Regions from separate parts of the Homo sapiens genome. Here regions 2, 3, 4, 5, 6 and 7 are each linked to region 1. Evidence: promoter capture Hi-C in 16 types of primary human blood cells and fetal thymus (Javierre and others, 2016). All regions are on one chromosome and are shown on one strand. The core of a region is centred on a gene start or on the middle of the fragment in contact, and the rest is flanking DNA. Distances in the headings are between cores, read along the strand shown. Region 1 holds the start of RBM17 (RNA binding motif protein 17). Region 2 overlaps PRKCQ (protein kinase C theta). Region 3 overlaps PRKCQ (protein kinase C theta). Region 4 overlaps PRKCQ (protein kinase C theta). Region 5 overlaps PRKCQ (protein kinase C theta). Region 6 holds the start of PRKCQ (protein kinase C theta). Region 7 overlaps LOC124902370 (a long non-coding RNA gene).

Region 1 (3,102 bases), core at 77-2,576:
CTGTCTATTCACTCACTCCTACAGTGTTTGCTATGAATAATGAGATTATGTGATTTGGTGCAAAGATTTTCCTATTTTTCCTATTTTTTTCTTGATTGTGAATTGTGCTCCTCAAGATTATAAAATGTCCTTCTTAATCTTACTTAATGCTTTTTGCCCTGAAATCAACTTTGTAGTAAGCGGTTTGTGATTCCTGATTTTTTTAATTTTTTTGCATATTCCTGGTATATCTTTTCCAATCTTGTATTTTCAAACTCAGAATAACGTTAGCACTTTCTTGTATACAACACTGAGTTGCATGATGGTTTGTGCTCCTATCTGAGATTGTAGTTTTTTAGTAGGTAAGCTTAGGTCTATATTTCTTCTTGTGAGACATTTGGTCTTGTTCTGTCATATAGTTTGGTTACGCTTTCTGTTTTGTAACTTTTTAAAATATTTCCCTATATATATATTTTTTTTGCTGTGGTTTTGTGTGTGTGTGTGTGTGTGTGCATGCATGTATGTGTGGGTGCATGTATGTGTGGATTATTTGAAAGCTTTGTAGTTTTGTTCTGGGTTACCCTCAGAATCATACCATCCCATGACGTCCTTAATCCTCTATTTCTTTAGATTGTCTTTTGTCTCTCCACTGTATTTCTTTTTTCCCCCTTTTCCCGTTTTCTTAATGACTGGATTTTAATGGATTATAGTAACTTTCTTGGTATACTCCTTCGGACTAAGACGTCTGCTTAAATCTCTACTATTTGATTTATCGGCTTGAACTCTATTTGACACCCAATTAATTACAGATGTAAAAATCATATTTACCCGAAGTCCCACTTTCCCTTTCCCTCCCTGCTTCTGTCAGCGACGTCGTTTTTAAAGACCGAGGCTTTATAGCATTGACATTCTTTTCTGTACCCCTAATCGCGGCATCTGTTTCCATAATCTTACGCTTAACCTCGTGCTCCTTGCCATCCTTTTGCAGCATCTGGCCTATGCAGACTTATTTTCAACTTTTTGCTTATATAGGAGTGGCTTTGAATGAATGAGATCGAGGGGCCTGGAGGGACTTCCCCCACCTCCCCTATCAGAAAGCCCGGCCTCGGACCACTTCTCCTCCTCACCATCTGGGGGCGCTGCCGCGCTCCCCAAGCCTTGTGGAATTTCGAAAATGTGCGCCAGGGCGACACCTCTTGATGGTAAGAAGACGCCGGCGGAGGGGAGCGTGCAGTGCGGTCCTCCCGCGGGCAGGGGGCAGTGCGGCAAGGCGCCCTCGGCGCAGGCGCAGAGGCCGAAGCAGGCGCAGGCGCAGGCGGGGCGCAGGCGCGGGCGCGCTCTCCCGGCAGCCCGCGCTCCCTGACCCCGCGCCGCCGAGCGCCCTGAGGACTCAGCGAAGGGTGGGCGCCGCCGAGGCCTCCTGCCGCTGGCGGGTTTCCGCGGAGTGCCGCCCGGCTCCGCTCTGCCGCCGGCGCGGCTCATGGGCAGAGTCGGCCGGGCGGGCCGGGTAAGTGGCGCCCCGGCGGCCCCGGGTGGGTGGCCTGGCGGGACCTGAGGCGGGCGCGCCTTCCCGGGAGGCGCTAGACGCAAGCCCGCGGCTTTAGGCCCGTCGCGAGGGGCGGAGGCCGGGCCAGCGCAGCCGGAGCCTCCGAGGGTCTCAGTCCCCGCGGCGGGCGCTGGTCTCTCCACGCGGCTGCGGCCCGGTACCCTCCGCCCGCCGCCGCCTCTGGTGACCCTGGCCCTGACCTTCTCCCTCTTCCCTTCCTCCTCCTCCTCCTCATGTCTGCCTCGGGCTGTTTGGTGCTGAAGAGCGTTTCTTCTCCGTCTCGTGCACCGCATCCTGACGAAATTGTCTGGTCACCAGAACCGAGTAGCCCGTAGCGTGTCCCCCCTGGCCCTGCACGGTTGCCCCTCTCTGGGGCTCGGAGCCGGTTCCTCCCGGGGTCTCAGAACTGGGAGTGCAGACGTTGGCGTTTCTCAGACTCCGGAGCTGCCCGGGACAGGAATGCAGCCCTAACCCCGGCGTCGCCTCGGCTCGTGCAGTTTGAGCGGTGTTTCAGCGCTCACGTCCGACCCCAGGCAGTCTTTGAGCTTCGCCTCTTGCCCCGAGAATGTGTAATGATCGGAGAATGCAGGTGGAATGAGGTTCTGCCCCTGCTTGCAGGAGTTTGGTTTCTGGGAAAGCAGGCGTGAAAACCCAGGCCCGGGTTGATTTGAGAAACGCAAGTGGGGTCTGGAAGGACCTCTCTTGAGAGAGGAGGTCATGCTTATGTTGAGTCTTGAAGGTACGTTGTTAGATGTGAGAGGTGGGAAAAAGGCTGCCGGCGGAGGAAGTAAGTGCGAAAGTAGCAGAAGCGAAGCCCCGTAGTGCGTTCTGGAAGCTGCAGGTTAGGCAGAAAGAAAGGTTTGAGGAGGGGCTGCTGTGTTTCCAGGAGTAGTCAGGTCAGAACATGGAGGTTTCTTGAGAAGCAGTAAAGAAGCGCCATTGAGGGTCCTTATTTTGCTAGAGCCAGGCATATGGATGGGAAATAGGATATTCTAGATAAGGGCAAGATTCGCATATACTCAAATAGATGGGTAGATGTGCACTGGCTCCCCGCAGCAGATGGAGTTTTTAAAAGGATGCAACACAAGTTTCCACATTTTTAGTTGTAAAGGCTGCAGACATTTTGATCGTAATGACAGCTTTTAGGGAATATGGGGTAACAGTTTAGTGAGCTAAACGAGAGGGCTTTATTTTTAGAGTTAGTTAAGCAAGGTGCTGCGTGCTGTCCAGTTTATAACAGAGCAGGTTGTGCGGTTGTGGAGCTCTGCGGAACCAAAGGCAGCCTTTCTGGAGGCTCTTGAGAGAATTGTTGTACACTTCCAAATGCAGCTTTATTTAAAGTGGATTTCTTTTTACCTGGTTTGTTTTAACTTACCTTCCCATTCTCCCCTGCCTATGAATTTTTCAGACCTCCTCCCAGCAGGGAACAGATGATCCCAGGCTAGTCATCTCTCAAACCTTTCATAATAGTCAATAGTGAAGGAAGTTCTGTTATTCGCCTAAATTACAGGTGACTGTAGTGGACTGTGTTTGCAATACTAGCCTATGGCATTTTGGTAACAGCCAGAGGGTGGGAT
Region 2 (3,584 bases), core at 447-2,946, 370 kb after region 1:
TCCATCCATCCAACCATCTGTTCAATTTACCCATCACCCATCCATCCATACCCATCCATCCATCCGTCCAACCATCTGTTCATCCATCCGTTGTCCATCCATCCATCATCCATACATCATCCATCCACCCATCTGTTCATCCATTCCTCATCCATCCATCATTTATCCATCCATCCATCCAGGTACATCCATTCATCCATCCATCCAACCATCTGTTCATCTACTCATCATTCATCCATCATTTATCCATCATTTATCCATCCATCCATCCATCCATCCATCCACATCCATCCATTCATCCATCCATTCAACCATCTGTTCATCCATTCATCATTCATCCATCATTTGTCCATCCATTCAACCATCCACACCCATCCATCCATCCAAATATCTGTTCATCCATTCATCCAACCATCTGTTCACTCATCCATCATCCATCCATCCATCTATCCATCCACCCCACACAATTTAGTCAGTGCCTAGGTACAAAAATATTTTAGATACATTGCAGGCCTTACACATATAAAGAAAAATTTAAAAAAATTCTGCTAAGAGTTTTAAAATAATATTCTGGTGAGTATTTCTCAATTTCCTGAAGATTAAAAAATTATAAAACAGATTCTTAATCTATGATTTTGTAGATAGACCAAAAAAAATTACATTCAAAGAGGCTGCTTAAGAATACTTACTTCTCAAACCTCCTCTAAGCCTTTAGTTGTGTGACTCCAAATAGGGCAACCCTCACTTGACTGCACCCTCAGAAAATGGAGAGATCCTTCCTTGTTAAGTGAATTCTACACTCTGTAAGCACCAAAGCTTCAATACTAATTATCTGCTCTCCAGCAGCTCAGCCATCCTCCTCACTAGATCCTTTCTTTTTTTTCCTTTCTATTTTTCCTCCTAATCTGCAGTGAGTTGGAAATCTGACAGTAAGCTTGTAAAGGTTTGTATGTTAAATAAGTGCCAACTACATTTTGAGAAAAGAAGTGAGGAGATTGAGATACAATAGTGTCAATCTAAGAGCTTGGACAGAAGAACGTGAAATGATGTCATACAGCAGAGAAGAAGAAAATTCCATAAGCATTTCTAGGTGGCTCAAAGCAAAGACAAGCAAAAATAAGAGGTATGAAGGGGACAAAAGAGAAAGAAACCGTAAGGTATGATAAGAAAGAGAAAACAGGACAGTGAAAATGGGAAAAGGAAGGTGAAAGAAGGAATTCAAGTGAGAACCAGCATAAAGGACAGAATGAGCTCAGCACTTTCCTGCTGTTGAGACTGGAATGTCTTCCTTGGTTGTAAGTCATCATCCATGTAATCATTGTGGGCAGCAGACCTATGTGTGGAGCTTACTCCCAGGAAATCACATGGGCTGTCTCACAGCACTCGGTGCAATGATTAAATTAACTGAGCCAGGAAAGCCGATATCTTAGCATTTGTTTCCACAAAGCAAAATTTACCTGTAGACTATTCCTTTGGAATGAAGGAACTGCAGACCAAGAATGATTTCAGCAGCATAAAACCTGGGGGAAGGAGAACCAAGGTTCAACATGAATGTTGTCATGGAACGAAATAAAATCCCAAACCCAGACTGACCTTTTTCTGACATGCTGTGTATGGCTAAATGGCATACACACATAACTCTGTTTAATCCTAACAAGGAAGATGTTGTCCATTCATTCTACACATAAGAAAGTAGAGGCTCAGACACCTCCAGCCTCAGTCCTAACAGCATAAAACAGAGCTGGCATCTTAAGTGAGTCCTGCCTGTATCTAGTACTTGTTCTTATATTTTAAACAATAATGCTCACATTGTCATTTTTTTTGTTGTTTTTGCTATTGCTAATAAAACATACACAGACATTAAAAGTAATAGTATAGGCCAGGTACGGTGGCTCACGCCTGTAATCCTAGCACTTTGGGAGGCCCAAGCAGGTGGATCACTTGAAGTCAGGAGTTCAAGACCAGCATGGGCAACATGGTGAAACACCATCTCTAGTAAAAATACAAAAATTAGCAGGGCATGGTGTTGGGCGCCTGTAGCCCCATCTACTCAGGAAGCTGAGGCTTGATAATCACTTGAACCTGGGAGGCAGAGGTTGCAGTGAGCTGAGATCACACCACTGCACTCCAGCATGGACGACAGAGCAAGACTCTGACTCAAAAAAAAAAAAAAAAGTAATAGTATAGATAATAGGCAAATAATTTCTCCCTTTGTTTTAAACTCTGGTTGGCACCCATAGACCTGTATGCACCATTCTGAATAGAACTAGCTGGTTTATTTTCGTACTGAGAACCTTTAGCCTGGGCAACACTTACAGCCCATGAGGTGGAAAAGAGGATATTAGCAGATGCAAGATAAGTTACACTTCATCTTCAATGGTGACAAGGTTAAAGGAAATGAGTTTACCCCATCACTGGTGGGATTAAGGTCGGATATAAGAGATAGCTTCCTGGAAGGGAAGCTTGCTGGATCTTGTGGAAGAATGCAAAATTCTCCTTCCTGGAAGGCATTTAGGACAGGATGGATAGCGTGGGTCCGGGCTGGCTGGAGACGACAGTGGACTAAGTGAATTCTTTCCGGCATGAAAAATGCCCGATGATTTCTCTGCTGCAGAAATCCAGTAAAATTACCTCTGGGTGCATTGCTGAGGTTTCCCAGAGCAATGATCTCAGCAGAGTGCTACCCACTAGATGTGATAAACAGCCATTCCAGCCAGGGATTTTAAGAAGCTGGCGGACCAAATCCATTTCTCAACCCACTTCAACCTAAACCACTCAAAGTGTTCATGCAGATGGGAGGGAGGGATTATTGAGCGCTGAGCAAAGGAAGCTAGCATGTACTCATCATTTTCCAAGGAGCCCAGTGGCAGAGCTTTCTTTTACTTGCATGTCATGGGGAGCAGGAAGTGGGACCCAAAGGGAACAGCATGGGCAGGAGTGGTGGTGAGAACTGTGGATGCAGGTGCAGTCCCACCAGGTACACACAGCCTGCCCCGTCTCCAGGTGTCTCAGGCTGCCGGCACTAGGAAGGAGAAGCTTTGTTCTCAGATGGACTAAGTGCCTCTTCCTGCTCCCTAAAGCTTTATGCCTCCACATCAGGCTTTCCATAAGATGCCTCAGCTACAAGCTCCATCCCTGGGGACCACCCTTGAGGTCTGCAGTCCATTTCACTGCTTCCTTTCCAAAGGTTACATATTTGCTTCTGTGCTCAGGTTAGTTAGAAGCCTGATGAATCGGGATGGTTCCTTAAGAAACTAAGTAGTTAGTTTTAAATCACAGAGAAATGAAACCAAACTGACACGAATTTCAGTTTCACAACCTGGGAAAACTGTCGCCTTGCTCGATGTATTCCCAAGGGTTCACCTGGCCCTGGGATTCAGGCATGCCAAGTGGGAAAAAAGGAAAAAAAAACCAGCAAGAACTGACAAGAACAGTGGAAAACTCCCAAACCCTTTAAAGCCTCTTACGTCGCTCTGGAAAGGTCGAACTTGTGGCAGCTTTGGATGTGGTACATTAAGTCCCCTCCGTTGAGGTACTCCATCACAAAAAAGAGGTTTTCCTGTGGAAAAACAAAACAATTCCAA
Region 3 (3,337 bases), core at 254-2,753, 400 kb after region 1:
CCCTGGGTTCAAGCCATCCTCTTGCCTCAGCCTCTTGTGTAGCTGAGACCACAGGCGTGCACACCACTACACCCGACTAATTTTTTTATTTTTCGTAGAGATGGGGGTCTCACTTTGTTGCCCAGGCTGGTCTCAAACTCCTGGGCTCAAGCCATCCTTCCGCATTGCCCTCCCAAAGTGCTGGGATTACAGGTCTGTTACCGTGCCCGGCCTAAAATCTTTACTATAGAAAGGATTTTTTTTTTTCATGATTGTGCTCCAAATTCCACATTGTCGGCAAAACTCGCATAACTCACATTCGCCCTATTTAGAAGGTGTCAGGTTTCAACTTCGGTAGCCCCAGCTCCATTTTCTTATGCATCACCGTGACACCAAGTGAGGTTGTCAGCTAGGATTGAACATAGAGGGATGGAGTTTTACTTTGCTCCTTAAAACTGTAGCCACATCTAGGCTTCTCTGTGACTTGCATGGCCGCGAAGAAAGGCCACCACCATCTCCACGAGAAGGTCCTAAGTCTTTGTTACTAACCTATCAGGCCGTAACTCAGTTTCTTGGAGGGCAAAGAGTCCCTTTGGATGACTATTTTCTTGGGAATTATTGTGGGGAGAAAGAGAAGGCAGGGTAAAAGGCTAAGGAGGCCCTACTTAAGACGACGGCCTGCAAGGAGGCAGGATGAAAGGGAGGCAGAGAGGGAGGGAAGAGAGCTGGAGAAGAGGGCGAGAAGAGTCGAGAAAGGAGGACGCGGGGGCATGCGGGGTGAGCGGAGCAGGCGGGGTGAGCACAGTGGAGGGGCAGGGACCCGGGAGTGTCAGAAGCAAGAATGGAAAACAAACCAGGGCAGGGGAGGGAGAGGAGAGGGGACAAAAGAAAAAGGGGAGGGGAGCACTTGAAATGTAGGTGGTAGGAGAGAGCGGGGAACAGAATGGAGCGGAAAGGAAAGAGTATTCAAGGAAAGAAATGAAACGAAGCAGGCAGAAGAGCCATGAAATAACGCCCAGGAACCCCTGGGAAGTTCTAAGCTGTGCCGCGGCGCTGCTGGGACCAGCTCTTCTTGCAAGTGGATTCTCGGGCTCCCAGGACAGAGAACCCGACCTGAGACCATCACAGGAGAACCAAGAGGCGAGAATTTCTCCTGTTTCTGTGGATACCGTCAGGATGCAGGATGCCGGGACACTACGTTTTGTCTCTGACCTCCTAATGAACTCTTAATACCCTGCCTATCCATGTCTTCTTGAACAGGGGTGTAGAGAAAAGCGTGTCAGTGTCCTTTGGGGCCAGGAACGGATTCTTGAGGCTAATGTTGGCCTCCTGTGATGTCTGCTTTAGGTAATGATTTGAAAACCTAACCCCTCCTGCCTCCACTGAGAGGTCGCTCTGGGTTCCACCAGACATGTGAACAGGATTGGGATGAAGAAGGGGAGAATGCGGAAGATGCTGTGCCGCCTTCCATCACGTACCTCATTGCTCAAAAGAGAGGACATACATTAGTCAGTAGCACTGATCAAAATAGGGCTGCCAAGAAAAAATAAAGTGGCTTATATATTTAATACTTCATCATAAGAAAAGGTCTGTGCTCACCAGGCATGGTGACTCACTCCTGTAATCCTAGCACTTTTGGAGGCTGAGGAGACAAGATCGCTTGAACCCAGGAGTTTGAGACCAGCCTGGGCAACATAGCAAGACCATACCTCTAAAAAAAAAAAAAAACAAAGAAAAACAAAAAAAACAAAAACAGGCATGGTAGCACATGCCCATGGTCCCAGCTACTTGAGAGGCTGAGGTGGGAGGATTGCTTGAGTCCAAGAAGTCAAGTCTGCAGTGAGCTGTGATCGAGCCACTGCACACCAGTCTCCAGTCTGGGCAACAAAGTGAGACCCTGTCTCAGAAAAAAAGTAAAAGAAGAAGAAAAAAATCAGAAGCTGTCTGTATGCAACAGGTGGTTCTCCTTTTGTGGCTCTATTCTCTGGGCTCTGCCCACGTCTCTCCCCAACCAGAAAGCAGAGTGCCTTGTCAGTTCTTGAGGGTTTTTTTTTTTCTTCCCTAGTCCTTAATCCTAGTGTAACAGCATCTCAGCTTCTAAACGTTATCGCCTTAGCAACTTGGAGTTGTACAGCAAGAAAGCCTTGCCTTGTTTCCTTTTTTGATGGTAGGTCTGAGAAACTCCATCAATAATGAATGGCAGGTTAGGCTCTGCTGCGATCCTGGCCTTGGAGGAAAGACCAGAAAACAGGCAATGACGGTCACAACCGGGCCAGCCTCTTACTGGGCACTTGGAGTTCACAGCAATGGTTTAGGGATGGATGCTCAAGCTAATGTTACAGAATTTCTGTGCAGGACCATGTGTCAGCCAAATGAATGTGCTGGGCTTGCTCCTTGATGAGATGACAGAAAGAATCTTACTGGCTGGTGCAAAGGAGAAGGGTTAGGGTACCACACAGCTAGACCTGTTGGGATTAGGAAGGGGCAGCCCAGAGCCCACTGAGGAAACTAGTAGTAGAAAGACCAGTGAGAGGAGAAACACTGTCTTCATTTCCCCCAGGGCTATGGTACGGCAGAAGGTGATGGAGCTAGGAGTTTGACCTTGAACCTGAACTGTTGTGCTCTTTTCTGGGATGTGTGGGTGGGGGTGTTGCAGGGTGCAAGGAAAGGAACATAGTGGCTTATTGCCCCAGAAGACCATACTTATGATCATGACTTGTCTGGGCTGGGTGTGGAAGTGGTACCCCCTACATCCTCCCTCCAGTTCCCCAGAAAGCCTTGCTCCATCCCCTAGGGGGTCCACGTCGGGCCATGCTCATCCCCCACTGGACTCACCATCACACTTGAGTCCTTGCCGTGCCAGTCCCCACAGCAGGGTCCCACAGTGTTCACAGAAGGTCGGGCTCTTGTAATTGTAGACTTTAAATCTGTGTGGCATGTCAATTTTGAATCTCTCCTTGTGGAACTGAAAGAAAGGCAGAAGGTGAAATCTGTGTATTCCTGGGGCCCCGACTTTGGATGTTCTTGCAGATACCTTAGCATAACTAACAGAGATCATAATGAAAACACTGGCATTGTGTGCATTTTAAACCATCATTGTCACTTGTCAAGCCCTACAGTCATGCCTGAAGAAGGCAGGCAGCCTCAGCAACTGTACGTGACGGGGCATGCTTGCCTTCTGCATGTAGCAAGAACCTTGCAGACAGCTGAAATCTGAGGCATTCACACAGACAGGCTAAAAGCTCAGGAAGACTGCATGAGGGTTATTTTAAAAAGTGCTAAGGAAACAGTGCTCCCATTTAAATAGATGAAGATTCCCTTCCTGTTTTACTATAAATATTTCCTTTTCTCTTTCAGT
Region 4 (3,368 bases), core at 560-3,059, 360 kb after region 1:
TGCTATCTATGGCTGTTCAGTTCAGGGGGCACAACTCTAATCACTGACATGCAGAATCAAATTGTGTCCTGTGCCAGGAAAGAGAACCTAGGATAGCAAAGTGCTCAAATCTAGGCCGGGTGCAGTGGCTCACTCCTGTAATTCCAGCACTTTGGGAGGCCGAGGCTAGTGGATCACCTGAGGTCGGGAGTTTGAGACCAGCCTGGCCAACGTGGTGAAACCCTATCTCTACTAAAACTACAAAAATTAACCAGGTGTGGTGGTGGGTGCTTGTAATCCTAGCTACTCCGGAAGCTGAGGCAGGAGAATCGCTTGAACCTGGGAGGCAGTGGTTGCAGTGAGCCAAGATCATGCCAATGCACTCCAGCTTGGGCAACAAGAGAGAAACTCCATCTCAAAAACAAAAAAAACCCCAAAGCACTCAAATCTAGAAATGAAAGATCTCTAAGAGCTACCTACAGCTCGATAGCGGGGTCTGAGTCTATCTGTTAGGGAGGAGGATTTAAAGTCTGGAAGCCTACCTAACATTTTGAAAGATTCCTATCCTTTCACCAACCCACTCTTCTGGCAAAAAAGGCTTTGTATGTTGATCTTTCAATGAATTCCTTTTTGGACATTGGAAGGTAGAGGGCACGCGCCATTCTGCTCAGCGTCTGACATCCCAACAAACTGTGCCTAAGCTTCTCTGAGATGGTACATGGTAGGACCCATCCATGGATGAAAGAAATAAGGAAAATGTGCCGGTGGGTAAATTACCAACGGAAATAAAACCAGTATGTAGAGGAGACAGCTGCACTTGCTTGCTCATTGCAGCTTCATTCACAATAGCCAAGATATGGACTCTAAGTGTCCATCAGTGGATAAATGGATACAGAAACTGTGCTATATATACACAGGGGAGTATCAGCCCTGAAAAAGGAGAAAATCTCTACTTGCAACAACATGGATGAACCTGGAAAACATGATGTTGAGTGAAGCAAGCCAGGCACAGAAAAACAAATGCTGCAAGATCTCATTTATATGTGAAACGTAAACACGTTGAACTCATAGAAGCTGAGAGTGGCAGTCGCCAGGGTCTGGGCAGAGGGTAGGGAGGAGGGATAGGGAAGGCGTTGAAGAAAATGTGGTACCTCCACACAGAGGAATATTATTCAGCCTTCAAGGTGAAGGGAAACCTGTCACATGCTACGTGAGTGAACCTTGATAACATTATGCTAAGTGAAGTAAGCCAGGCAGGGAAAGACAAATACTGAATGATTCCACTTACATAAGGTACCTTAAGTATTAACAGAAGTTTTTGCCCTTACTTTCAGTGACAAAAACCGTAACTACTTCTGCACCAACCTAATAGTTAAATTCTAGAGACAGGAAGTGGAATAGTGGCTGCCAGGAGCTGTGGGGAGGGGGAATAGGGAGCTGGTATTTAATGGGGACAGAGTTTTGGTTTTTCAAGATGAAAACCTTCTGGAGATTGATTGCACAACTATACAATACACTTTATTTTATTTATCTATTTATTTTTGAAATGGAGTCTCGCTCTGTCACCCAGGCTGGAGTGCAGTGGCACAATCTCGGCTCACTGCAACCTCTGCCTCCTGGGTTCAAGTAATTCTCCTGCCTCAGCCTCCCGAGTAGCTGGGATTACAGGTGCATACCACCATGCCCAGATAATTTTTGTATTTTTGGTAGAGACAGGGTTTCACATGTTGATCAGGCTGGTCTTGATCTCCTGACCTCAAGTGATCCACCCACCTCGGCCTCCAAAGTGCTGGGATTAACCGCACCTGGCACTATTTTTAACATTACTGAACTGTACACAAAAATAGTTCAGATGGTAAATTTCATGTTACGTGTATTTTCCCACAATTAAAAACAAAACCCTAGGACATAATAGTGGCACATAAAATTTTTTTTAATGGAAAAGAGGGAAAAAAAATCTTCGTTAATTCATGACTGCTGCTCCAAGGATGAGTTGCGGGCAAGTTGCTTTATTAGCCAAAACAAAATGGAGAAGGAATAATAGGATTGAGGCACTAAACTTAAAAGCAAGACAGTCAGACTCTCTTGGGGATGAACATCTGTTCTACCTTGTAATGTGTTTGGGCTTAGCTGGGTGCATCTGTGAACAGACACACATAAATACACACACACACACACACGCACGCAGAAGGTATTTTTTTGTTGGCGCTACTCGTATGACATGGAATTTTTCTCTTCCTTCTCTAATGGGCCTTTGGAATGAATGGCAGAATTGCAGCACTGATGGCCTTGAAAAGAAAATGACACCACAATTCCAGCCATTCTCCCAGCCCTTTGGGAGGCTGAGGCGGGTGGATCACCCGAGGTCAGGAGTTTGAGACCAGCCTGGCCAACATGGCGAAACCCCGTCTCTACTAAAAACACAGAAATTAGCTGGGTGTGGTGGCGCACGCCTGTAATCCCAGCTACTCGGGAGGCTGAGGCAGGAGAATCGCTTGAACCCGGGAGGTGGAGGCTGTAGTGAGCCAAGATCGCGCCTCTGCACTCCAGCCTAGGTGACAGAGCAAGACTCTGTCAAAAAAAAAAAAAAAAAAAAAAAAAAAATTCCAGACATTCCAGTATTTTCTAGGAAAGCCAGATGTTTTGATGTCGGTGAGCTTTTTTAGATGGAGCAGACTGATGTGCACGGCAACCCCATCCCTGACCCTCCACCACCCCGGGGCCCACTCCTGGGAGACAGATCAGTGCTAAGTGAGGCCCAGGGGTGCTGTGAAGTCTCTCTAAGGCAGACTTGCTAAACAAACAGAAGAACAATATCAACAGCAGCACAAGAGTTTTTCTGGCCATGTAAAACGTCACAGGCTCTACTTCTGGCTTAATCCCTTATTGTGTAGTTTTGGGAGGACCCTTTCACCCTTCTTGTTTGTGAAAAACGGGAATCATATCTGGCCCGCTTCTTATAAGCTTCTTGTGAGATCCAGTGAAAAGTAGCAAAGTCAAGATGATTTGTCTTATGGGACAACTATAAATGTTATGATAAATATCTGCTTTGATGATGCACTTGTCCCCGTTTCTGAAAATAAAGTTGCAAACAGAATTTTGCAATGTTACTGATTTCCAATATAAAAATGCTACCCACTACTCTTACCTCGATATTTACATGCTAAAGTTTACTTTATAATTTAGAAAAAATAGGCTTTGCCTTAAGGAATCATCTGAAGGTAGACCCAGGGAGAATGATAAGGAAATATAAGATGCACCTAATACAATCTTTGCTCAATTTGCTGGGCCAGGGACACATGCAATTTCCGAGACTTGCCCACAAGGCGGCGTCAAAGCAACCAGAAACGTCTCTGAACCACATATCTTTGTAAACAACTTCGTTTTGG
Region 5 (3,303 bases), core at 642-3,141, 340 kb after region 1:
TATTAAATAGGGATATTAATAAGCAATTTCAGAGGACACCTGAAAGAATAGAAGGAAGTAACAAGTACTTCGCACACTCAGAAATACGAAGCAAATAGTAAGCTTGTTAGTCACCTGACATATTCATACAGATGACATTTATTAAAAACAAATGATGAGGCCTGTAATCCCAGCACTTTGGTAGAGTGAGGCAGGGGGATCATTTGAGTCCAGGAGTTCAAGACCAGCCTAGGAAACATAGGGAGACTCTGTCTCTAATTCAAAAAAATAAAAAATAAAACAAACAAAACCAAATGATGAATAGACCTTATTTTGGTCTAGTGGAGGGGATAAAAGTTGCGTTGGTTCCTGTTTCTAAGAGCCAACAGTCTTCACTTATTTGTCTCCTGGTAGGGGTCCTGTTGGGGTCTCTGGGTGTCAGGAGGATGCTGGGTGCTGGGGCAGGGGTATGTGGGAACCCAGAGTGAGGAGAGGACGACTGGAAGGAAAATGGGGTAGAGCTGCCCCCAGGCCTGCAGCGAGTGGAATCCACGAGTGTCTGTGTTTTGGAAAGTGTTGCTCACTGACCTTTTAACTTTGCAGGATTTTGATTCAGATTTAGAACCAGAAAGCGCTCTAGTGAGGACTTTAGATAGCGTCTTCACCAACCCCATTGCTCTAGTGAGAAGGGACTTTAGATAGCGTCTTCACCGACCCCATCACTCTAGTGAGACGGGACTTTAGACAGCATCTTCACCTCCATTACTTGGAGGCCCCAAAAGATGAAATGACTTGTTCAGGGCTTCACAGCAAATGCAAAGCAGAGCAGAGATCAGAACAGAACGGGCGGCTCCCTGCCCTCCACTGGCCCATCCAGGGCCTTAAAGGACCCTCTCCCTCCTTCAAGCAGGTGAATTTGGTAAACATGTGTGAGCATTTTCATTTGGAGCAAGGGGAGGACAAGTGTCGCCTTCTCACATAACTAGAGGTTTGTAGTCATGGTGCTATTTTCAGAACAAAGGGCCCGGACACCTGAATGGACACATCTGAAGATAGATGCCCATCCTTAAATGAGGTTACTCGTGTTCATTTTAGGGGAGTGTCTATTTAAAAAAAATCACAAGAGCTCCGTATAGTCAGGAAAATGTTCCAGCACACCTGCAGACTGTCAACAGTCTGCTTATATTAATTATTCTATTTTAAATATAATATCTAAAGTTATTTCCAGCCATGTGATGAGGTAGGCTAGTGACTCCGAATATTATGCAGACTTGCTTTTCTTACAATTGCCTTAATGTCATCTGACTTCCTCACCCTTTGTCTTACTCTACTCCTGCCTCAGCCTCCCAGGTAGCTGGGATTATAGGCCCCCGCCACCACGCCTGGCTAATTTTTGTATTTTTAGTAGAGACAGGGTTTCACCATATTGGCCAGGCTGGTCTCGAACTCCTGACCTTAGGTGATCTGCCCACATTGGCCTCCCAAAGTGCTGGGATTACAGGCGTGAGCCATCGTGCCCAGCCAATCCCCCAACTGTAAAACATCATCTCAATGCTAGCTACATTTTGAGGACTGACACAGCAGAAGCAAGTTCTTGTGGGGGGCAAGCGGGGAAGTAAACGATTAAGAGGACTCTTTTTTTTTTTTTATTCCATTTTTACACATCCACCTGTTTGCCATGAAGTCACAACATTTTATCAAAATATACACACAGCACAAATACCTTTAAAATGTATGGTTGGAATTCTAATTCAACTCAATTGACTGCTGCAAACAGCATGCATGGGCCATTGATCTTGAATGATGCCTACGGAGGGGCTTATGAGTCATGAAATCACCAGTCATGGCACGAGAAGGGGTTAAGGTTCTTTTCCCAGGAGACTTATGCACTTCATTTCTTTTCTTGTTATAGTGTGAGAATGGCAGTGAGTGACTGTGCCAATACTGGAGTCTGCTGAGAATGGGTGGATGGAAAGGTTTTTACTGGCAAGGGTGAAATGATACTATCTTTTCTATCTTGACAAGATAACAAGCGAAGGTGTCTAGCAAACCTTCCCTCTCACTTTCCACTTGTCCTCTTGACCATGGATTTCATGCCCAATCAGGATGAATGGATTTGTAGATCTCAAGTTACAAGCTATGTTTATTGTAAAGAATTCCCATAAAAACCTATCCAGGGCTGGCCCCCCAGCCATTTACACATCCACAGATAGGAATAGAATAAAACGGGTTAGTGATTACTTGTCTGCGGCTGAGTGAGATCCGCTACTAGACCAGGCAATGGGGCCGTTTCAGTCTTGAGACGTCTGTACTCCGTTTGCCCCTGATTCAACAAGCATTTCATTGATCAGCAGTTGGCGCCCAGGTGAAGAGCCATAATTTATTGCAGTATCAAGTCTTGAAACCTTTCCAAGTGCGGAGACCCATCTTTCAAGTAAATAACTATGGTTAGTAATGACCTAACTTCAGGAGCGTCTGTGAGACATGTCAGGAGACGAGACACACGGCATCGTCATTAGTGAAGTAGACTTGGTTTCTGCTACAGATAAAAGTCACATGGGGGCGAACGGGTCTCAGTCTTTATTGTTGAGTGTTTCTTTCTTTTTCCAAGTTGAAAAAGGAACCCAAGCAGTGTCTCTTGAACCAGTTCCCAGGGAGAAGGCAAATTCTTTCCTGTCTCTGGAGGGGCAAGATTCAGGATATCAGCCGCTCCATCCCGGGGTTCATGAAGGAAAAGTTCCTGAACATATTCTGGTCCATGCTGTTGATCAGTGCTCTGTCGGCAAATGACAGCCGGGGCTTCTCGTTTAAGAATTCTTTGTCGAAATTGCTGCAGTCAAATGGTGATTTCTTAGTCAGAGTTTAAGGGAAGAAAGAAAGAGAAGAAAAATCAGCCATTAAGTTCATGATCTTCACTTTTGTTATCTAGGCCGTGATCTGCGTATGGCAAAGTTGGTGTTTGCAGAGACACTAAATGGAGGCAATGCCTACAGATGACCATGCCCAGCTCTCATTGAACATGGCTGTGATCCTGTGTCCTCAGCTTAATAATAATATAAATTCATAAATTCACAGAAAGACTACGACTGTAGACATTCAAATGGGATCTAATGTTTCTAATGGTTTACATGAAGCAGGGTTGGCAACCTTTGAAAAAGTGATCCACCTGAATTTGACCTCTGCCTCTTCAGTTTTCATGGAACACAAGGTGGGGATAAGGGAGGGTGGTGGGGAGAGGGAGTGAGGGGGTGTGAGCGGAGGGATGGGAAGAGAGAAGGAATTTCACAATTACATATTCCTGTTCTTTTATCAACGTTCTTGGCT
Region 6 (3,462 bases), core at 817-3,316, 490 kb after region 1:
CAAAACAAATCAAATTTCCAGGAGCTGCACCGTGTATGGTGAGCGAAGACGCAATGAGGACATGTCTGTAGGAGAACAGAGGTAGAAGTTAGCTCCTCAAGTAACAGTTGCCATCCCGAGGCACCACAGCACAAGACAGTAGCGGAAATGAACATGACAACGCGGATGGTGGGTGACAAGAGTCTTGCCTGGATATTGACATTTTTAAAGTGTAGAAGAAAATCGCAGGTCACTGAAACAAAGGCTGATGGTGCCCAGCAGGTTACTCTTGAAATCAGAAACAGAAGTTCATGAGAGGCAAGAAGACAGAAACAACAACTGAAAAACTTAGAGTGGATCGCTAACTTGCAGGAGCTGTGCAGCTTTGGCTTTGCAGGTTTTAGAAGCTCTCCCTACGCCACGTCTTTAAATATATGTATGTTCAATCAGCAGGAGGAAGGGACTAACAAGAGCCTTCTGCGGTAAGCACCTGCATCAAACAATGGCACTGATCTCAGAGGGATTTTAAACAGCTGTGCATAAACTTCAAAAGTAATTTGCAACCATATTAGTAAATGTCACTCTTCTTCCCGCTAGACACAGCACTTTTAAAAGAGATTAAGCATCCGCAGTAAGCCTGCCATTTTACAAGGGTTACCAAAGATAAGTTAGGGAAAATATGAAGATGATGATTCACAAGGTCGGGGTGTGGGGTGGGGTGGGGGACCCAGGACCTTAGGAATAGGGCTTGTCTATCACACAGCCTCGGGCAAGAAGGGCCCAGTGGGGACCATGGCTTCTAGGGAGCAAACCAAGGGAAAAGAGCAACGGAGTGGACCCTCCAGGCTTCTTGCCTCTCTCACGGAGCCTCACGAATCCCAGTGGTTTAGAATTTTCTTTGGCAAAAGAAAAGGTCAAAGAGGCCGGAGTTGACAGAAAGCATGGGCGGACTTCTCAGATCTTGTAGGTGGTTCTTAAAAGAATTCAGCAGGCTTGAGGTGTGCTCTCAAAGGGCAACTGGAACGTCAAGGACTTGGACACCAGGCACAGATGGTTCATTTCCCATGGACAGGAAGAGGGCACGGAGTGCTCCCTCTTCCCTCCACCTTCTCCAGCCTAGTCCCCCTCAGCCTGTGCCACTCCTGAATCATCTTTTATAGCACCACGTCCAGCCCGCACAGGGGCAGGACAGCCCAGGGAACAAGGCAGTCCTGTGGCGCTCTCCTTGCAGAAATGACCGGAGTCTCCCAATCCAGCCAGCCCGTGGACCTCTCTTCATGCCCACGGGGGAGTGCACACGCCTGTAGCATTCAACAGTCACTCTCCCATTGATAACGGTGGCTCTCGAAAATCCAATACCACAAAGATACTTTATTGCACAAACTTTGCTTGGTTAACCTGGCCCTCAAAGCTGGGGAATAACCTCACTTGAGGCTACAGGAATGAGCACGCAGATTTTTCTTTTTTTTTTTTTTTTGGTATCTTTCAAAGACCTGCCTCCCCCTCCCCCAGGCCCTTGACCAGAAACTTGGCTTGTTTAGAAGCCTGAGCAATGGCACCCCCGTCCGTGCTCCAATACATTCCCAGAAAAGGGGTTATGCTCCCCTGTGGACAGGATACCATCTCCAGAAAACATGTTTCCTCACGCATTTTTTTTTTTTTTTTTTACCAAGAATACAAAAACTTTCCACCTTCTTCCCTCCCCGCAGGCCCCCTTTCGTTCAGGTGAGAAGGAAAAGGGAGAAGAAAGGAGGAAGCGCCCCCAGGCCGGCGGCCCCCACCCGGCTAAGGTCGCCAGCATCCCGCATCCCGTGCGACCTGCGTCCCAGAAACCCAGCGGGGAAATTCTTCCCGGTGCGCTCTTGCGCCCGCTTGGTTCCATTTCCTACTCCGCCTGCTCACCCGGCAGCCCTCACCCCTTCCCGGAGGCTCTCCGAGGGGCCCGGGTAGCCCTTCTCGCCACGGGTCTCGGCCCCTCCAGCCCGCTCCCTCCCGGCGGCGGCGCGGGGCGCGGGGCCCTACCTGGAGCGAGCACGGCGCCGCTGCTGCCCGGTGGCGCTGGGACTGCGCGGGGACTGCGCGGGGACTGCGCGGGGACTGGCGGGGCTGGCGGGGCTGGCGGGGCTGGCGGGGCTGGCGGGCCCGGCGCACTGCGGGTGCGCCTAGAAGGCGGTGCCCGCCAGGGGGCGCTCGCCAGCCTCCCCGCCAGCCCGGCCTCCCGGGACCCGGCACCTCTAGCCAGGGACGCGCGCTCGGTCCCCCGCCGTGCGCCCCCGGTCCCGCGCCCAGGCTCCCGCCCCTGGCCTCCTTACCAGCCACTTGTCGCCCAGCTGCGAACTGGAGCGGGAGGCGGCGGCCGGAGGGCCCAGGACAGCCCCGGGAGGGCGGCGAGGCGGAGCAGGAGCGCCCCGGCTCCGGCCACATTCTCAGAGTCAGGAAAAGGGGCGAGAGGCCACATGTCTCCCTCTCGCCCAACTGAAAACGAAACGGCGCTCCAGCAGATTGGGTGGAAAGAGCTGGGTCTCTTTTCTCTGTTTTTCACGCTAGAAAGGGCTTGTAAACATTGTTCCTTTTAAAATGACCTACCCCAGGCATTTGTTTGGGCACACTTCTGTCCTGGGGTCATCGTTCCTAGGTGGCTTCGGACCTGGGACTTTTCCTGTATCTGCACATTGTCGTTTTATACACAATTGCCAAGGTGGGACTGCTTTCAACTTTACTGTGCTTGAAGCTGCAAAGGTAATGTTGCCGCCGTGCGTGTCATTTTAGGACTTTTTATGCCTTGCGGGTAATACTAATGATGGTCACAGGGAGGATAAACGGGGTGGTTTCTTTTTCTATACTCCATGTAACTAATTTCTCATTCAGGTTAGAAAATTATATGTCTGGTTACTAATATTCTTACTGAATGGTTTCCTTGCAATGATGACACCAAATAATTAAAACGTACTTGATTAAGACTTTTGTTGCTGTAGTGTACTAAGATCAGATTAATCTGAGAAGTAAAATAGTAATTTTTTGTCCTTTTTTCTTTTCTTGTTTTGAGAGAGACATTAAAAACGATTAAAACAAAACAAAACAGGCCAGGTGCGGTGGCTCATGCCTGTAATGCCAGCACTTTGGGAGGCTGAGGCGGGTGGATCGCTTGAGGCTGGGAGTTTGAGACCAGCCTGGCCAACATGGCAAAATCGTGTCTCTCCTAAAAATACAAAAATTAGCTGGGTGTTGTGGCACGTGCCAGTAATCCCAGCTACTCAGAAGGCTGAGGCAGGAGAATCGTTTGAACCTGGGAGGAGGAGGTTGCAGTGAGCTGAGATCTCACCACTGCACTGCAGTCTGGGTGACAGCAAAACTCTGCCTCAAAAAAAAAAAAGGTTTAACAAAAGCCAAAAGTTGAATTAGCAGCCTTCTGATCATGGGAATGTAGGATGTCAACTAAAAAGAACCTCAGAGGTTGGGAAGGCAGATGAAAAACTGAGGCCC
Region 7 (3,500 bases), core at 682-3,181, 310 kb after region 1:
GCCATTAAAGCTGAATTTCTGGAGACTGTCAATGTAAACTCCCTTGCTTTGTAGATATGAAAAGGCAGCCTAGAGAATGACAGCTTTGGGTGAAAGCCATAGTGTCCCCACAAGTAAATAATGGTGAGCAGAGTGCCTTGCATATAGTAGGTCCTCGATAAATATTCACCGTGATTTACTTACTAGATGGTATGTAAGCTAGTGGTTGGAATATTTAAACATAAACACACAGACTCAGAATGTTGAGAATGTGCTCAATTCCTTTCTGCAGTGAGTTTTAAATTTAAAGATTCCTTTGTGCTCCCTGCCTAGCCTGGAGCTATTGCTGCGCTCTTGGCAACATCCACCCGGCTGAGCCCAGCAGCCCTTGCCCTGGAGACAGAAATTGCCCCCTTTTTTTTTTCCTTCTTTTTATTTTTTTTTGGCACAGGGTGTGTTGAGACAGGTTGAATAGCCACCCTGGAGTTTTGCCAGAGCCACAAGATGAGGAAGGTCAAGAGGCAGAAGAGAGCAGGGTGAGGAGATGGGGGTGGAGGAGAGGAAGTTTGACATCATGTGGCTTGAATGGCTCAAAATGCTGAAATGCCAGCATTAGTTCAAGCAATTTAGACTTTCAGGAAGCCTGGCCTTTCCCCCTAGAGTCGTTTGTTTAGTCCTGTCTGGTGGGCTTGGCTGGCGGATTCCACAAACTCATGATGAAAAAGTTCTCCAGGCAGAACAGAGATGTGGCCTCCATTCCTACAGGGTAGACAATCAATTCCAAGGGCCCAGCATCTCCTATGAACCCAAGGTCACTCAGATCAAGTCCCCAGGGTGGCAAATGTCTGGCATCAATCGGGGGTTGGGGGGGCGGACACTGAGTTTAGTTCAAGGAAGTATTGCCAGATTTTGTGTGTTCTTCTGTGCCACTGATGGATTTGAATGAATTTGAACATGCTGCACGGTTTGACGCACGTCAGAACTGAAAGAGAAGGCAGAGTCCAGGTGAAGAGCAGGAACGTGGCCAGATTGCCCAAGTTAGAATGGGGCTCTGTTACTAGCCAGCTGGAGATGTCGGCTGCTGACTTGGTGTTCTCTACCTGAGTTTCCTCATTCAACACTGAATCCCCCGGCTCTGCCCTTCTTTCATCTGTAGCCCCAGTACCTTTTAGCAAACTATGTAATTTACTTGTTTGCTATGTTTGTGATTTACTGTCTGTCTTCCTCATCTCCTGCTCTGAAAGGACAGACATCTTGCTTGTTGTGTTTTGATGCATTCCAAGATTCTGGAAGACTTGGAAGACAGCAGGTGGTCCATACACATTTGTTGAATGTGAGTAGTCACAGTACCAACCTCGCTGTGTTGTTATGCAGGTGAGATGACTTAATACTGTCATATACGCAGGGCAGTCCCAGCCCTGAGCAGTGTGCCCTGAACTATATTTCAACACACAGCGAGAGCTGGATCTCTCGAGCAATCCCACGTCCCGTGTCTCGGCAGGCCCAGGACAGTTCTGCTTTTAACCTGTTTCCTGGAGTAATTGCTAACAGTGCTTCCTTTCAGAAAAAAAAAAAAAAAGGCTCATTTTAGCTAGTAAATTATATGGTTTGGCTACATGTAAGTGTTTTTACTCATTCATTTAAGAAACTGAAAAAAAAAAAAAAAATCTGCCAGCTGGCATGCACCTACAGTCCTGGGTGCTCGGCAGGCTGAGGTGGGACGATGCTTGAGCCCAGGGGTTCAAATCTAGCCTGGGCGACATAGAAAGACCCCACTTCTACAAAAAGCAGAAGAAAGAAAGAAAAAATATTGAATGGGTACCATGTTAGATGCTAAGAACAACGACCATAGTTCGTTCCCTTTTAGAGCTTACTGTCTTCTGGAGAACTTGCAAAATTAAATAATTCAAATTTAAAACTGTTGGAACTTTATTCTGAGCCTTGAGAGAAATGGACTGAGTCACATAGCATGCCGTTGCAACTTCTGCTTTTTCCCGTAAACGATTAGGAATGACCGAGTAGCACCAGAAATAAGACCCTCTGAGTGGTGACCCCTCAGAACATTACTCTTGTCCTCACAGAACATTACAGCCATCTTCCATGGAATGGAGCAAGCCACCCTAATCAAATCGCTATGACATGTATCTAGCCTTGCACGGAAAACATTGCAACCTGCCGAAACCATCTCTACCTATGTAAGCACAGCCTTAGCTTCCCCACTTTAGAGCATGTCCCTTTGGGGTCTGTGTTTTCCGGGTGACCGTTCTCAAGCTCTGTACTCAAATAAACCCCATACTTCATCATATTTTCTGTATCACCTTATTTAAGGTCAACAAACTTTAAGGACATAATTAAGTAGACAACCTCATGACTTGAACACATGGTTAATAGTAATAATTGGATTGACATCCATATAGTTCTCCTCTGTTTTAGGAGAGGGCTGGTTTTTTTTTTTTAAATATTGATCCATTTTCGTGCTTTGTATAGTAACCCAATGAGGTAGAAGTGATTACCGCCACCCTTTTACTGATTACAACACCTGGGGTTCTGAGCGCCAGCCACTTGGTGAGGATTGCGGGGCCAGGGCACTCTGGTCCCAAAGCTCTGATTCCCACGGGCTTTCCTGCTGAGTCACGCTGTCTGCTGGGAGCTGTTGACCCGCCGTCTCTTTCTCTGACTTCCACCCGATAATTCTACATGGCTCTGCAATAAGCAGCTTTTTTCTTATTATTTCCTACAAATACATAGGTTACACTCTGATTAAAGGCAGAATACACATCTTGAATTAAGGGGAAGGCTGAAGCCTGGAATTCTTCCCATCTCTAATCCTGCCTGGTCACTGAAGTTCCTGAGTCCTCAGCTCAGGTCTGAGGCAGCCCTGCCCAGCAGGGACGGAAACTGCAGCTTTTTCATGTTCCTCTGCCTCCCTCTAGTGACTCAAGTCCAAAATAGTGCGGCTGGGAACTATTGGAAGAACACAGACGCTGCAAAGAAGCTGGAAACCATCATTCTCGGCAAACTAACACAAGAACAGAAAACCAAACACCGCATGTTCTCACTCATAAGTGGGAGTTGAACAATGAGAACGCATGGACGCAGGGAGGGGAACATCACACACCGGGGCCTGTTGGGGGATTGGGGACTAGGGGAGGGATAGCATTAGGAGAAATACCTAATGTTGATGGGTGCAGGAGACCACCATGGCACGTGCATACCTATGTAACAAAACTGCGTGTTCTGCACATCTACCCCAGAACTTAAACTATAATTTTAAAAAACCCCAAAAGAGTGCAATTTCAATGCCAAAAAAAAAAAAAAAAAAAAAAGCTGAGCTTCATCTATTCCTTCCGCTCTTTCCTCCCTCACGCCTACCATGTGTGAAGCACTGTACCCAACATGAAGGACACAGACAGAAAAGCCTGACTCCGCATCTCCCTGCTCGGGTTGCCTTGGCAACTTCTCCGTGTACCCAAAGAAGCAAAGGGGACTTAACAATTTCAAAGAAGAGTGGCAGTAACTAC

What was found. Contacts are between HindIII fragments. The CHiCAGO score rates a contact against its expected background, and 5 or more counts as called.
Region 2: a contact is called between a fragment that was not itself captured here and the fragment with the promoter of RBM17 in region 1, in 1 of 17 cell types (neutrophils). The highest score is 5.7, in neutrophils.
Region 3: a contact is called between a fragment that was not itself captured here and the fragment with the promoter of RBM17 in region 1, in 1 of 17 cell types (neutrophils). The highest score is 7.4, in neutrophils.
Region 4: a contact is called between a fragment that was not itself captured here and the fragment with the promoter of RBM17 in region 1, in 1 of 17 cell types (neutrophils). The highest score is 6.2, in neutrophils.
Region 5: a fragment that was not itself captured here is called in contact with the fragment with the promoter of RBM17 in region 1 in 2 of 17 cell types (neutrophils and non-activated CD4 T cells); the score reaches 6.8 in neutrophils.
Region 6: the fragment with the promoter of PRKCQ here is called in contact with the fragment with the promoter of RBM17 in region 1 in 1 of 17 cell types (fetal thymus); the score reaches 6.5 in fetal thymus.
Region 7: a fragment that was not itself captured here is called in contact with the fragment with the promoter of RBM17 in region 1 in 17 of 17 cell types (M2 macrophages, non-activated CD4 T cells, M0 macrophages and 14 more); the score reaches 20.3 in M2 macrophages.

Annotation. Positions count from the first base shown.
Region 1 is chr10:6,087,708-6,090,809 of GRCh38, forward strand. It overlaps RBM17 (RNA binding motif protein 17), which reads left to right and starts at 1,327. Exons shown (of 12, transcript NM_032905.5): 1 at 1,327-1,486. RefSeq lists enhancers at 979-1,028, 1,985-2,823 and silencers at 1,189-1,628, 1,639-1,728, 1,999-2,058. The HindIII fragment of the contact is 5,297 bases long and covers 535-3,102 here.
Region 2 is chr10:6,460,846-6,464,429 of GRCh38, forward strand. PRKCQ (protein kinase C theta) reads right to left here. Exons shown (of 18, transcript NM_006257.5): 13 at 3,468-3,559; 14 at 1,458-1,520. Among named protein-coding and RNA genes, the nearest start is that of LINC02656, 110 kb to the left of the region's middle. The HindIII fragment of the contact is 1,528 bases long and covers 933-2,460 here.
Region 3 is chr10:6,488,869-6,492,205 of GRCh38, forward strand. PRKCQ (protein kinase C theta) reads right to left here. Exons shown (of 18, transcript NM_006257.5): 8 at 2,815-2,944. Among named protein-coding and RNA genes, the nearest start is that of PRKCQ, 90 kb to the right of the region's middle. The HindIII fragment of the contact is 4,374 bases long and covers 1-3,337 here.
Region 4 is chr10:6,442,567-6,445,934 of GRCh38, forward strand. The region is part of intron 15 of PRKCQ (protein kinase C theta); the gene reads right to left. Among named protein-coding and RNA genes, the nearest start is that of LINC02656, 94 kb to the left of the region's middle. RefSeq lists an enhancer at 325-494. The HindIII fragment of the contact is 2,263 bases long and covers 679-2,941 here.
Region 5 is chr10:6,425,534-6,428,836 of GRCh38, forward strand. It overlaps PRKCQ (protein kinase C theta), which reads right to left. Exons shown (of 18, transcript NM_006257.5): 18 at 1,615-2,829. The coding sequence ends at 2,674. Among named protein-coding and RNA genes, the nearest start is that of LINC02656, 77 kb to the left of the region's middle. The HindIII fragment of the contact is 3,583 bases long and covers 101-3,303 here.
Region 6 is chr10:6,578,210-6,581,671 of GRCh38, forward strand. PRKCQ (protein kinase C theta) reads right to left here and starts at 2,067. Exons shown (of 18, transcript NM_006257.5): 1 at 2,002-2,067. It overlaps PRKCQ-AS1 (PRKCQ antisense RNA 1), which reads left to right and starts at 2,216. Exons shown (of 2, transcript NR_036503.1): 1 at 2,216-2,718. RefSeq lists silencers at 2,069-2,318, 2,329-2,478. The HindIII fragment of the contact is 7,587 bases long and covers 1-3,462 here.
Region 7 is chr10:6,399,089-6,402,588 of GRCh38, forward strand. LOC124902370 (a long non-coding RNA gene) reads right to left here. Exons shown (of 2, transcript XR_007062044.1): 2 at 1-2,713. It also overlaps a transcript of PRKCQ not described here. Among named protein-coding and RNA genes, the nearest start is that of LINC02656, 51 kb to the left of the region's middle. The HindIII fragment of the contact is 5,114 bases long and covers 1-3,500 here.